Regions from separate parts of the Homo sapiens genome. Here region 2 is linked to region 1. Evidence: promoter capture Hi-C in human tissues and cell types (Jung and others, 2019). All regions are on one chromosome and are shown on one strand. The core of a region is centred on a gene start or on the middle of the fragment in contact, and the rest is flanking DNA. Distances in the headings are between cores, read along the strand shown. Region 1 holds the start of USP6 (ubiquitin specific peptidase 6). Region 2 has its middle 20 kb from the start of SCIMP.

Region 1 (6,384 bases), core at 2,061-4,560:
ATGTCCAATTTGTAAACCTGAATTCCACAAAATAAAACCTACCTGTTAGGGAGCAGTCTACTTTGGAACTTTGAGAAAAGAGCCTAAATGATCAAAGTTTGCCTTCATAAGATTTTAAACAGCTAAAGAACCAAACTCCAAGAGGACCAAAACTGAGAAAAAGTCAGAGTCTGATAATCTCTTTGAGGAAGAGGGGTGATTGGAGTGTGGCTTAGGAGAGGTTTCTTCATATAAATACTTGATAGTGATAGAGGCAGGACATGAAGTTGAGAAATTCTAAGCAGATGTGGCAGGCCCCCAGTGAAACCCCATCTTTGAGCCGAAAAGCCTGAAACCCACAGCCCAAAGTGAGAACTTCTATTCCTGTTTGCTTACTCCCTCCCGATTGGTTCTTTCTGAATAATGTCTTCTTACCAATCAAATGTTGCCTTTTCCAAAAATACCTATGGCTGCCCCACCCTCATCCTGTGCCTATAAAGACCCCAGACTCAGTCAGTAGATGAGAGAGATGGCCAGACTTTCGGGAAGAAATGGCCAGACTTTGGGGAGAAGATGACCTGCCCTTTCTACCCCCTCTCTAGCTCCCCTCTCCGCTGAGAGCCACTGTGATCACTCTGTAAAATTCTCCACCTTCACCATCCTTCAAGTGCTCCACACAACCTCATTCTTTTTGGATGCCAGACAAGAGCTTGGGACCCACCAAGTTTGGCTACCCAAAAGGCTGTCACACTCACCCTTTGCCCTCACCAGTGGCAGGTAGCCACCCCACGCAATGGGGCTAGGGGCCAGCTGAGCTGTTAACACATACCCATCCTCAAACAGTGGCGCTAAGAGAGCACTGTAACACTCCCTCTGGGGATTTGGGATCACAGGCACCCCCACTTGGGCAGCACCGCAGACCCCAAATGGAGCTTGCTCCTGCAGCTGCCCAGAGCAGCCAGCTAGATCCTGCAGTCGTTTGCTCATGCCTGGTCTGGTCACAGGCTCCGCAAAGAGCTTGCTCATGCTGGTGCCTGTAGTGGCCAGCCAGATCCTGCACTTGCTCACTCACCTGCACACTCCTGCAAGAGGTTGAGCACAGTGGGCTGAGTAAACAGGGCACCCCTGTCTTGAGTCCCACGAAGGAATCAAGGAAAAAAATCCTGTATCAATAGGAAATAAGACTGTCACTACCATCCCTGAGGGAGAGAGCACATGACTATGGTAGAATAAGTGAATGCTAGCCAGTAATCTGCCAATATAGTCCACTTGTCTTGATTTTTTTTTTTTTTTTGAGACGGAGTCCCACTCTGTTGCCCAGGCTAGAGTGCAGTGGCATGATCTCGGCCCACTTCAATCTCCGCCTCCCAGGTTCAAGTGATTCTCCTGCCTCAGCCTCCTGAGGAGCTGGGAGGAGCTGGGATTACAGGTGCATGCCAGTACACCCAGCTAACACCATGTTAGCCAGCCTGGTCTTAAACTCCTGGTGATCTGCCTGCCTTGGCCTCCCAAAGTCCTGGGATTACAGGTGTGAGCCACCCCACCCGGCCTCACTTGTCTTGATTTTTAATGCCCTTAGAGTGAGGCCACCATCATCTCTTGCTTGTACTATTATCGCAGCCTCCTAACATGCCTCCCTGATTCCAACGCTTCTCTACAGGGCAGCTGGAATGTTCTTCCTTCAGAACAAATCTGATAGTGCCATCCCCCTCTCTAAATTTCCACAGTGATTTCCCACTAACTTCAGCCTGAAGTCCAAAGTCCTTATTGTGACATATATATTCTGATGCGACCCCATTTATTCACTTGTGCTGTAAATATTTATTGAGCTTTTTTTTTTTTTTTTTGAGACGGAGTCTCGCTCTGTCGCCCAGGCTGGAGTGCAGTGGTGCAATCTCAGCTCACTGCAACCTTTGCCTCCCGGGTTCAAGTGATTCTCCTGCCTCAGCCTCCTGAGTAGCTGGGATTACAGGTGTGTGCCTCCACACCCGGCTAATTTTTGTATTTTTTGTAGAGAGGGGGTTTCACCATGTTGGTCAGGCTGGTCTCAAACTCCTGACCTCATGATCCACCCGCCTCGGCCTCCCAAAGTGCTGGGATTAGAGGCTTGAGCCCCCTCGCCCAGGCTTATCGAGCTTTTAATATGTGTTAAGCAGCGGGTGCTACAAAGCAGGGTGAGCATAAATGGACAAGTCTCTGGCCTGATGGAACTTATAATTGTAGAAGAGAAACTAATTAGAATCATTAATAAAGTTGCAACCATAAGTGCCAAAAAGGAGAGGCATATGATACTACAGTGGGGAGTCTCACCTAGCTGGGGAAGGCTTTCTGCAAAGTACTTACCTTTCCTTCCTATTATTTACCCATGAACTCTCTGCAGTTCCCCAAGAATGTAGGCACCGCCCTCTTGCCCTGTGGCCTTTCCACGAGCTGTTCCCTCTGTGAAGATTGCTCCCTCCGTACCTAGCTCCATCACTTTTCAGTACTTGCTATGTGTTGGGTACCGTGATAAGCACTTACCATCAATTTTCTCTTGTATTTACCTCAGTGAGTGCAACTGTTAACCCTGTTTTATACATAAGAAACTACGCTCTAGAAAGGCAAATTTGCCCAAAGACTCACAACTAGTAAGTGAAGAAACGAATTCAAATTCCGGTCGGCCCGACTCGAAAGCGGTCTTGGCGGTACAGTCTTGGGTCTCCCAGTTCCTTCCTGTTCAGGCCTCACGTATCTGCCCGCCTTTCCTGACAGACCCCTGGTGAGGGTCTAGTGCCTCCACGGGCCACGGCCATCGTAAGGCAGCAACTGTAACTTGTCGCCCGCCCCACTAGGCTGAGCTCTTCCCGGACAGGCACTGGCCTTTTCCCTTTCGTCGGCTCAGTGACTCCAGGTAGACGCCCCTCAGACACCACACGAGACGGCGGCTCACATGGGCCAGAAGTGTTTCCCCTCTCCCCCAGCGGCTTGTCTAGGAAAACATGAGGACTCGGTTCGACTCGATGGTGCGGGCCTAAGCCCCGGGAAGCCGGGAGTGGTGAGGCGGGCCGCCGGGAGCGGGGCCGGGAGTGGTGAGGGGGGCCGCCCGGAGCGGGGCCGGGAGTGGCGTCGAGCAGAGAGCCCGCAGGCGGGAAGTCCTCTCAATGAGCGTCTCGAGCGCTGCCCGCGGCCCCTCCTGACTGCTAGTTGGAGCGGGGACAGCATGGGCGCGGCCGCCAAGGTAGCGTCGAGTGAGGGGAAGACTGATGGGCGCCTGGAGACGAGCTCCCACAGCGGCCACGCATTTGGAGCTGGGCGTCGGGGCCCGCCCGTCCCGCCGCGCCGCTAGCTGTCCCCTCTGCCTGGCCTCCGTGCCTTGCGCCCCTTTGTGCCGTCCAGCCCTACAGCTTTGAGGCCCTTTCGGCGCACGCACCCCGCCCCGATCCCCCGGCGCTATCCCAGCCTTGACGGCCGGGGAGGCTTTCCCTAGCCCGGCGCCTCGAGGACCGCCTCAGTGGCCAAAGGCGGCGCGGGGTGCGCCCGGGCTGTGTCCCCGGGAGGCTGGACCGCCAGTCCGCGCATGAGGCCATCTGTGAGGCACGAGTGCAGGAGAGTGAAGGAGACCGGGGCGTGCTGAGTAGGGACCTCCCTCAGTGACTGGAAGGTTATTCATGGGGCCTTCTGACACTCTAAAAACGAAATTTCTCCGGGGTTTGATGAGTATCAGGGTGGTGGCTTCTTGAGTTTTGAGCAGGCATCACAAATCAATCCCTCTGGAATACAGAACTGCCTCTGTTCCGTTTTGGGTTTTGTGTGTGTGTGTGTGTGTGTTTTTGGAGACGGAGTCTTGCTCTGTTGCCCAAGCCGGAGTGCAGTGGCGCCATCTCGGCTCACTGTAACCTCCGCCTCCCGGGTTAAAGCTGTTGTCCCGCCTCAGCCTCCCGAGTAGCTGGGATTACAGGCGCCCCCCACCACGCCAGGCTAATTTTGTATTTTTAGTAGAGAGAGGGTTTCACCATGTTGGCCAGGCTGGTCTTGAACTCCTGACCTCAGGTGATCCACTGGCCTCGGCCTCGCAAAGTGCTGGAATTACAGGCACGACCCACCACATCCGGCCCTCTGTTCCTTGTTTCGAAATAACTCAATTAAAAGTCAGAGGCTCACTGGCCACATCTCCTTCCACCCACCCACCGCCCCACCCCCCAAAAGATGCCTCTAGCAAATAAAATGAGACGTCCTGATGCCTTCCTGGCTCGTTCCAGAATTTTTAGCTTTGACTTTTGACGTGGGGTCCTTCTACCTAAAGTCCCCGCCGTCACATCAGCCCCCAGTTTTCCTCTGTCTTAGCTCGGGCTGCCGTAACAAAATACCATAGACTGGATGCCAGACAACAGAAATTTATTTTCTCAGTTTTGGAGGCTGCAAGGCTGTGACCAGGGCCCAACATGGTCAGGTTCTGGTGAGAGCTCCCTGGCTGCCTTCTCACAGGGTCCTCACATGGCAGAGAGAGAGGGACCCAAAGCCCTCTGGTGTCTTTTTTGTTTGTTTGTTATTTTTTGGGACGGAGTCTCACACTGCTGCCAGGCTGGAGTGCAGTGGCCCGATCTCGGCTCACTGCAACCTCCACCTCCCAGGTTCAAGTAATTCTCCAGCCCCAGCCTCCCAATTAGCTGGGATTACAGGCACCCACCACCACACCCGGCTAATTTTTGTATTTTTAGTAGAGAGGGGCTTTCACCATGCTGGCCAGGCTGGTCTCGAACTCCTGAGCCCAGCTGATCCACCCGCCTCGGTTTCCCAAAGTGCTGGGATTACAGGCGTGAGCCACTGCGCCTGGCCAGAACTCAGTCCTTACAGAACATCAGAGAATCCATACAAGGTGAGAGAGAGGCCTTATAAATGCATTGGGTGTGGGAAAGATTTGAAGGGGAGCTCACAACTTATTCAGCATCAAAGAATTCACAGTGGAAAGAAACTTTGTGAATGCAATGAATGTTCAAAGACTTGTAATCAGAGCTCACACTTTATTCGACATCATAGAATTCATAGTGGAGAAAAGCCCTATGAATGTGACAAGCATGGGAAAGCCTTCAGATGGAGCTCAGACCTTGTGAGGCATCTGGAAATTCATATTGGAGATAAAGTTTTGGAATGTAGCGAGCGTGGAAGAATTTTCAATCAGAGCTCAGGTCTAATGCAGCACCAAAGAAACCATACAGAATCATAACCCTAGGAAGACAGTAATGATAAAGATGTCAGTATGTACATATAGGAAGAGAGAAGGAGAGTTTGTTTTTGTCCTAACTATTTGGAAAATTGTAAGCTTCCTAAGAGCAATTTTCATCTGATTCAGTGTATAGTACTTAGTCTCAGGTCATGTGCAGATATGTCCTTCCCAAATGCTTACCACAAGATAAATCAGAAATCTTGACTGGAATAAGCTTCTAGTTCCTTTGCTTTATCATGAGAGGTTCCACACCACAGGAAAATCTTGTAAATGGTGGAAGCTGCATAAAGCACCATCATCATCACAAAATGGTGTCCTTGTGTGTCCTGTTTAGCAGCACCGAGAATCTAATAGCTTTCCCCTTGTCTGTTTTTCCTTACTATGAATTGTGCCAGGGGAACAGTAAAATGGGTATGATATCCTGAACTCTAGGGTGGATGTCTTTCTGGGACAGAATCTAATCCAAAAGTCTGCAAATGGACTTGAGGTTTTCACATTAGTATAAATGTCAATATGTAGTTTAGGGAATTTGCCTTATTCCTCCATTCCTAGCAAAATTAGATACAGAAGCAGCTAATTAAATCAGGAAAAGGAAACTGACAGTAAGTCATAGGACCCATTGTCTTCTCTCATGTAAAAGTAGAAGTTGTGATTCAATCTGTTCTGTAGGATTTAAAAGTATAATGGCACATTGAAGTTTGACATACTGAAATTCAGGCTCTGTCAATTTCATCTCTGTAACCTTTATTGTTTCTGAGTCTTGAGTTTTCTCATCTGTAAAATCAAGATAATGACATTAATACAATCCCTTGTGGAGCAACTGTGAAGACTAAATAAGACAATTTCATTAAGTTCCTGGCATAGTTCTAGACACGTAGTAGACATTCAACAAATGATAACTATTTTTATCCATAGCTCCTACGTGCAGTAATTATCAATGGCACTTTGAAGGAAAAAAGATAATATATCCCCCAGCCATGGGGGTGTCAATGCGCATTTTCAAGGATACTATATCTTGGAGAAACAAATTTAATAATCTGAGAATCTGAGAACTGTTACTATGGTACTACACAGTTGAACAACAATTTTTCTTGGAGAGACTAGGATTAAGCTATTTTATAAAAGTATTGAGAGACTGGATCAATCAATATCCTGCAAAATTGATAGTGAGATAAATTTATTTTTAATTAATTTTTTTTTTG
Region 2 (6,714 bases), core at 4,208-6,707, 140 kb before region 1:
GCCATTAGGCAGGAAAATCAAGGATCTCATGTTCAATACCTGCTATAGGCTACATCAGAGCTTTTTCCACCTCTGACATAAGAGATAGCAGCTGCCAAGGGCCTGGGTTCTATTTCCAGAAATCCACGAAATGACCCACTAGCGTGTGATTTTGTATTAAATGTAGCAAGACTGACATACATCAAATCGGGCTGATATATATTTTGCAGTTTGGCACTGACATCCTGGTGTGTAGCTCAGATCACCTCGGGTAGGGCCAGGTGCACAGTGTCTGATGGAAGAGGGGAAGCCTGCCTGCAGGTAGGGGACACAACAGCAAGTGGGGTCATTGCCTTTACCATACTGTGTTGCATTGCAGCTTAAATGGATGCAGCTAAACAGCTTTTTTTCTTCTTTGAGACAGAGTCTTGCTCTGTTGCCCAGGCTGGAGTGCAGTGGTGCGATCTCGGCTCACCGCAAGCTCCGCCTCCCAGGTTCACGCCATTCTCCTGCCTCAGCCTCCCAAGTAGCTGGGACTACAGGCGCCCGCTACCACGCCCGGCTAAATTTCTGTATTTTTAGTGGAGACGGGGTTTCACTGTGTTAGCCAGGATGGTCTTGATCTCCCGACGTTGTGATCCGCCTGCCTCGGCCTCCCAAAGTGCTGGGATTACAGGCATGAGCCACTGCACCTGGCCTTTTTTTTTTTTTTTTCGTTTTGTTTTGTTTTGTTTTGAGACAGAATCTCGCTTTGTCACCCAGGCTGGAGTGCAGTGGCACGATCTTGGCTCACTGCAACCTCTGCCTCCTGGGTTCAAGCGATTCTCCTGCCTCAGCCTCCCGAGTAGCTGGGACTACAGGCTCATGCCACCATGCCCGGCTAATTTTTTTGTATTTTTAGTAGAGATGGGATTTCACCATGTTAGCCAGGCTGCTCTTGATCTCCTGACCTCGTGATCTGCCTGCCTCAGCCTCCCAAAGTGCTGGGATTACAGGTGTGAGCCACTGCGCCCGGCTGAGCTTTTCTGATTATATTATCGTTACCACTAACCCAACCCTCAAAAACTGGACATGGGGCTTGCAAAGATAGACAGATTGAATATAAACTAATAAAGCCAGCACAAGCCACAAAAAAGGAAATAGCAGACCTGATGCTTCTTCTCTTCATAATAGAAGTCCTTCGTTAGCCACATTATAGGTAAAAACATGATCTCATCAGATCTGCCAAAAATCTGGCAAATGAGCAAGAGGGAGTGAGAGAAATTATCAAAAAGAGTGTTTGCAATACATTTGTACATCCCTTATCACTAACAATGCCTTTCACCTTCAGTATATAGTCTGTCCTGAGAAAAATAATAATAGTCGTATGAGTAATTATAAACAAATAATTGGAATAGTTGGCAGCGTGTGCTCAAAAATGTTTTGTTGTTAGTGGTAAAATCACCTAACTCAGGAGATCATTCCAATGCCTGCAAATTTCTTAATGAATCCAGGACTATTTTTTAAAACATTTTTTATTTTTTGAGATAGGGTCTCACTCTGTTGCCCAGGCTGGAGTGCAGCAACTTGATCATAGTTCACTGCAGCCTCCAACTCCTGGGCTCAAGTGATCCTCCCACCTTAGCCTCCTGAGCAGCTGGGACTACAGGTGCATGCCACCACACTCAGCTAATTAAAAAAAAAATAGAGACAAGGTCTCAAAATCCTAGGCTCAAGCAATCCTCCTGCCTTGGCCTCCCAAAGTGCCAAAACTATTCTTGATCCCAGCACAATGTGTGACCCAGAGTAGGTCCTTAATAAATATTTGTTCAGGCCGGGAGCGGTGGCTCACACCTGTAATCCCAGCACTTTGGGAGGCCGAGGTGGGCAGATCACGTGAGGTCAAGAGTTCGAGACCAACCTGGTCAACATGGTGAAACCCCATCTCTACTAAAAATGCAAAAATTAGCTAGGCGTGGTGGCAGGCACCTGTAATCCCAGCTACTCAGAAGGCTGAGGCAGGAGAATCATTTGATCCCAGGAGGCGGGGGCTGCAGTGAGCTGAGATCACGCCATTGCACTCCAGCCTGGGTAACAGGGTGAGACTTTGTCTCAATCAATCAATCAATCAATCAATATTTGTTCGGTGAGTTAGTGAGTGAATGAAGGCATTCAAGATTAGGAACTTGCCAGTATGCCCAGCCTTGCCTCACCTCATCCCGGCCCCCAATGCCATTTCACCCTAAGTGCCCAATATCCAGACTGCTTACTGCTCCCTCAGAGTCTTCCCAGCCCATCTGTCCGACCCTGGCACACCTCTCTCAGCTTATTCCTACAAACCCTTTGGGACTTGAGTGTGAATGGAATCTTTTCTAACAAACCTTCCCTGACCCAACCTCTGCCAGATCTGGGCTGAAGACCCCTTTGGAGCCCTTTTCATATTGTTCGTAATTTTTAGTTTTATTTTTTGGGGCCCACTCCTTGAAGGCAGGATGTAGGTCTGCCACCAGAGTTTCTTTTTTTTTTTTTTTGAGACAGAGTCTGGCTCTGTCCCCCAGGCTGGGGTGCAGTGGCACAATCTCAGCTCACTGCAACCTCCACCTCCCCGGTTCAAGCGATTCCCCTGCCTCAGCCTCCTGAGTAGCTGGGATTACAGGCATGCGCCACCACACCCAGCTAATTTTTGTATTTTCAGTAGAGACGGGGTTTCACCATGTTGGTCAGTCTGGAGCCACCAGGGTTTCAATGAATATTTGCTGGATGAATAAATAAATGGAAGAAAGAATGAAACAGTTGGCTTGGGCATGGTATTCAGGCACAAGTTTACTATTATGATGTCAATCAAAGGCTCGCAGATTCCTCATTAGGTAGAATAAAGTTTACAGGAACCCATCCCTTACTGATGTTAGTCATTTTTCAAGGCTCTAAACTTTGCCTCTGGCCTTGGTTTTGGCACCCATCTTTCTCTGGACCAAGCTGTCTCCTACCACACACCCCTCTTCTCCCTTCCCCTTCTCTCTGTCATCAGATTGCAAGCTTGTACCCTGAGGGCTGTCTCAGGCAGCAAGGATCTGGATCTACAGGCTTGGTGAAGGCACAATTCCTAGTCTCTTGCCTTGAGCACACACAGGAAGTCAGCCACCCAGCCACAGTTATATTTAGATTCCTGTCACCTGATGGGGTCATCTGTTAATCAGGGCATAGTGGTAGGTGCAGCATTTTGGGAGTAAACTGAGGTAGGACCAAGGTAGAGAGGAAGTGAGCAGAAAAGTCAGGTACTGACTCCAGGCTCTTTGGCAGGATGAATATTCATGGCTTACATTACACCTAGAGAGATAGAAGGCAGACCAAAGGAGGAACTTGACTTGAGAGAGAAAACAGTTCTTGGCTTGGGCAGGGTAACGGTGGTGCCCCTGAGAGCAGCAGGAAGAGCTGGCCCCTTGGGGCCTCTTGCAGTCCTGAAGGCCAGTTGGGTGCAGGAGCAGGAGCACGGGCCCCTTTGCTGAGTGAGCGGGGCCGAGTGAGTGGTTTTTTTCCATAGGCAGGAATACCCAGCTGCGGTCAGCAGAAAGAGCTGTGGTCACAGGACCCTGTACACAGGGTAGAAACCAGAAAGAAGCAGACATAGCAGGAATTTTTTTTCAAGCTTCCAAGAGCCTTCTCTGCCCTCGATTTGGTTTATCAAATGACTGCTTTGGGAGCTGGGGGACGGGCCCTAAATTGTCATGGATCCAGTTGCTTCTCCCTCCTTTTCTTTTTCTAACCTCGCCTTCATTTCCAAATGACCCCCTTTTATTTCTAGAATCCACCCCCACCACTATAGTAGGTACCTTGCAAGGAGCTCCTGCCCACACTCCTTTCTTTGGCATCCAATCCATTCCAGATCCTGCTGACAGTGTTGGCTTCCCACAACCCACTCCTTTCTGAAATGCTCGGGTGCTGGCCCATCACCGGGGGATCGTCTACACCCCTCCGTCTGGCTTCTGAGTTCTCCATGTTCTGACTGACACTCACCCTTCCCAACCCCAGGCTCACCTTTCTTTCTTTTTTTTTTTTTTGACAGCTTTATTGAGTTATGATTGACATGAAATAAACCGCACCCATGGCCAGGCGAGGTGGCTCGTGCCTGTAATCCCAGCACTTTGGGAGGCTGAGGCGAGTGGATCACAAGGTCAGGAGATCGAGGCCATCCTGGCTAACATGGTGAAACCCCGTCTCTACTGAAAATGCAAAAAATTAGCCGGGCGTGGTGGCATGCGTCTGTAAACCTAGCTACTCAGGAGGCTGAGGCAGGAGAATTGCTTGAACCCAGGGGGCAGAGGTTGCAGTGAGCTGAGATCGCACCATTGCACTCCAGCCTGGGTGACAGAGCGAGACTCCATCTCAAAAAAAAAAAAAAATCAACTGACTATATATGTGCAGGTCTATTGCTTGACTTTCTTTTCTGTTTCACTGATCTATTTATGTATTACCTGCAACAATAACACATTGTTTTTTTTACTGTAGCTTTATGAGAATTCTTGAATCAAGTAGTAAGTCCTCCAACTTATTCTGCTTCAAAGTTATTTTGGCTATTCTAGGTACTTTGCATTTCTAAATAAATTTTAGAATCAGCTCATTCTACCAAATAAAGCCCACCAAGGTTTTGATTGGAACTGTGTTGATTTTGTAGATCAATTTGTGGAGAATTGAAATCTTACCAATATTGAGTCTTACGATCCATGAATATGATAGAACTTTCATTTATTTTGATTTTCTTTATTTCGATTTTCTTTATTTCTTTCTTAATTTTTTTTTGACAGAGTCTTGCTCTGTCACCCAGGCTGGAGTGCAGTGGCATGATCTCAGCTCACTGCAACCTCCGCCTCCCAGGTTCAAGCAATTCTCCTGCCTCAGCCTCCCCAGTAGCTGGGATTTCAGGCACGTGCCACCATACCTAGCTAATTTTTGTATTTTTAGTAGAGACGGATTTCACCATGTTGGTCAGGCTGGTCTCGAACTCTGACCTCAAATGGTCCACCGGACTTGGCCTCCCAAAGTGCTGGAATTACAGGTGTGAACCACAGCATCCGGCCCTTTTAGTACTTTTTAAATGTTGCTTTAGCATCTTCTGCATCACATTAACTCCCAAAAAGAAGATTGCTGTCATTTTTATATTTGTTTTTTTCTCTGGCTGCTTTTATATCTTCTCTTCATTGCTGTTTGTAAGTAGCCCGATTAAGATGCACCTTGGGCTGGGCGTGGTGGCTCACGCCTGTAATCCCAGCACTTTGGGAGGCCGAGGCGGGCGGATCATGAGGTCAGGAGATCGAGACCATCCTGGTTAACACGGTGAAACCCCGTCTCTACTAAAAAAATACAAAAAAATTAGCCGGGCATTGTGGTGGGCACATGTAGTCCCAGCTACTCGGGAGGCTGAGGCAGGAGAATGGCGTGAACCCAGGAGGCGGAGCTTGCAGTGAGCCGAGATCGCGCCACCGCACTCCAGCTTGGGTGACAGAGCGAGGCTCCGTCTCAAAAAAAAAAAAAAAAAAAAAGATGCACTTTGATTAGTGTTCTTCATGATTCTTGTGCTTTGGGTTCATTGAGCTTGCTGGGTGGGTGTATTATCTACGGGTGTATCATTCTCATCAAGTTAGGAAAAATTTTTCCCTTATTTCTTTGAATATATTTTTCTGTACCTCCTCCTTTTGGAAATGGAGTCTCGGTTATTGGAAACTCCAGTTACACGTACATTAGGCTTCTGGAAGTTATCCCCCAACTCACTGTCATTTATTCTCAGCCGTTGTCTTTCTCTGTATTTCACTTCAGATTACTTTCTTTTCCTTTTTCTTTTTTCTTTCTCTCTTTTTTTTTTTTTGAGAAGGAATTTCACTCTTGTTGCCCAGGCTGGAGTGCAGTGGCGTGATCTCGGCTCACCGCAACCTCCACCTCCCAGGTTCAAGTGATTCTCCTGCCTCAGCCTCCTGAGTAACTGGGATTACAGGCATGCACCACCACGCCCGGCTAATTTTGTATTTTTAGTAAAGACTGGGTTTCTCTATGTTGGCCAGGCTGGTCTCGAACTCCTGACCTCAGGTGATCCGCCTTCCTCGGCCTCCCAAAGTGCTGGGATTACAGGTGTGAGCCACCACGGCCCGCCCGGATAATTTCTATTACTGTGTCAAATTCATTAATCTGTGGTCTGCAGTGTGTAATCTGCTGCAAATTCCATTCAGTGTACTTTTCATCTCTAGAAGAGATAGATGATAGATACACTCATATATACATACATAGTCTATCAGTATCTATATATCTTCTATGTCTCTACATAACATGCTCTTGTCCACTAATCTCATCATCTCTGTTATTCCTGGGTCTGTTGCAATTGATTTTTCTCTTCATCATGAAAGTATTTTTCAGATTTATTGAATACTTGGTAATTTTTCACTGAGGGATGTTATTTTAGATAAAATCAAAGCCTCTCTGAGGAGGGCAACATTAGGTTGGAAAATAAGAATAGTTGACCCTTTAACAACACAGGGGTTAGGGGTGCCAACCCCTGGTGCAGTTGACATCCCACATGTTATTGGTAAGGCTTCTGGTCAATAGTAGGCTTAACTGCTAATAGCCTGCTGTTGACCAGAAGCCTTACCAATAACATTAACAATCGATTAACACATTTTGTATGTTATATGTATTATATACTGTATTCTTACAGTAAAGTAAGATAGAGAAAAGAAAATGTTATTAAGAAAATCATAGGCCAGGTGCAGT

Evidence for each region. The method cuts DNA at HindIII sites, captures the fragments that hold promoters and counts their contacts. A contact is called where the count stands out against the background at its distance.
Region 2: a fragment that was not itself captured here is called in contact with the fragment with the promoter of USP6 in region 1 in 1 of the 25 tissues and cell types used here (pancreas).

The regions. Positions count from the first base shown.
Region 1 is chr17:5,112,958-5,119,341 of GRCh38, reverse strand. It overlaps USP6 (ubiquitin specific peptidase 6), which reads right to left and starts at 3,310. Exons shown (of 38, transcript NM_001304284.2): 1 at 2,602-3,310; 2 at 1,052-1,142. It overlaps ZNF232-AS1 (ZNF232 antisense RNA 1), which reads right to left. Exons shown (of 3, transcript NR_135658.1): 2 at 5,890-5,956; 3 at 4,960-5,184. It also overlaps a transcript of ZNF232 not described here. The HindIII fragment of the contact is 4,107 bases long and covers 2,625-6,384 here.
Region 2 is chr17:5,251,763-5,258,476 of GRCh38, reverse strand. No RefSeq gene overlaps it. Among named protein-coding and RNA genes, the nearest start is that of SCIMP, 20 kb to the right of the region's middle. RefSeq lists an enhancer at 3,454-3,959. The HindIII fragment of the contact is 4,315 bases long and covers 3,300-6,714 here.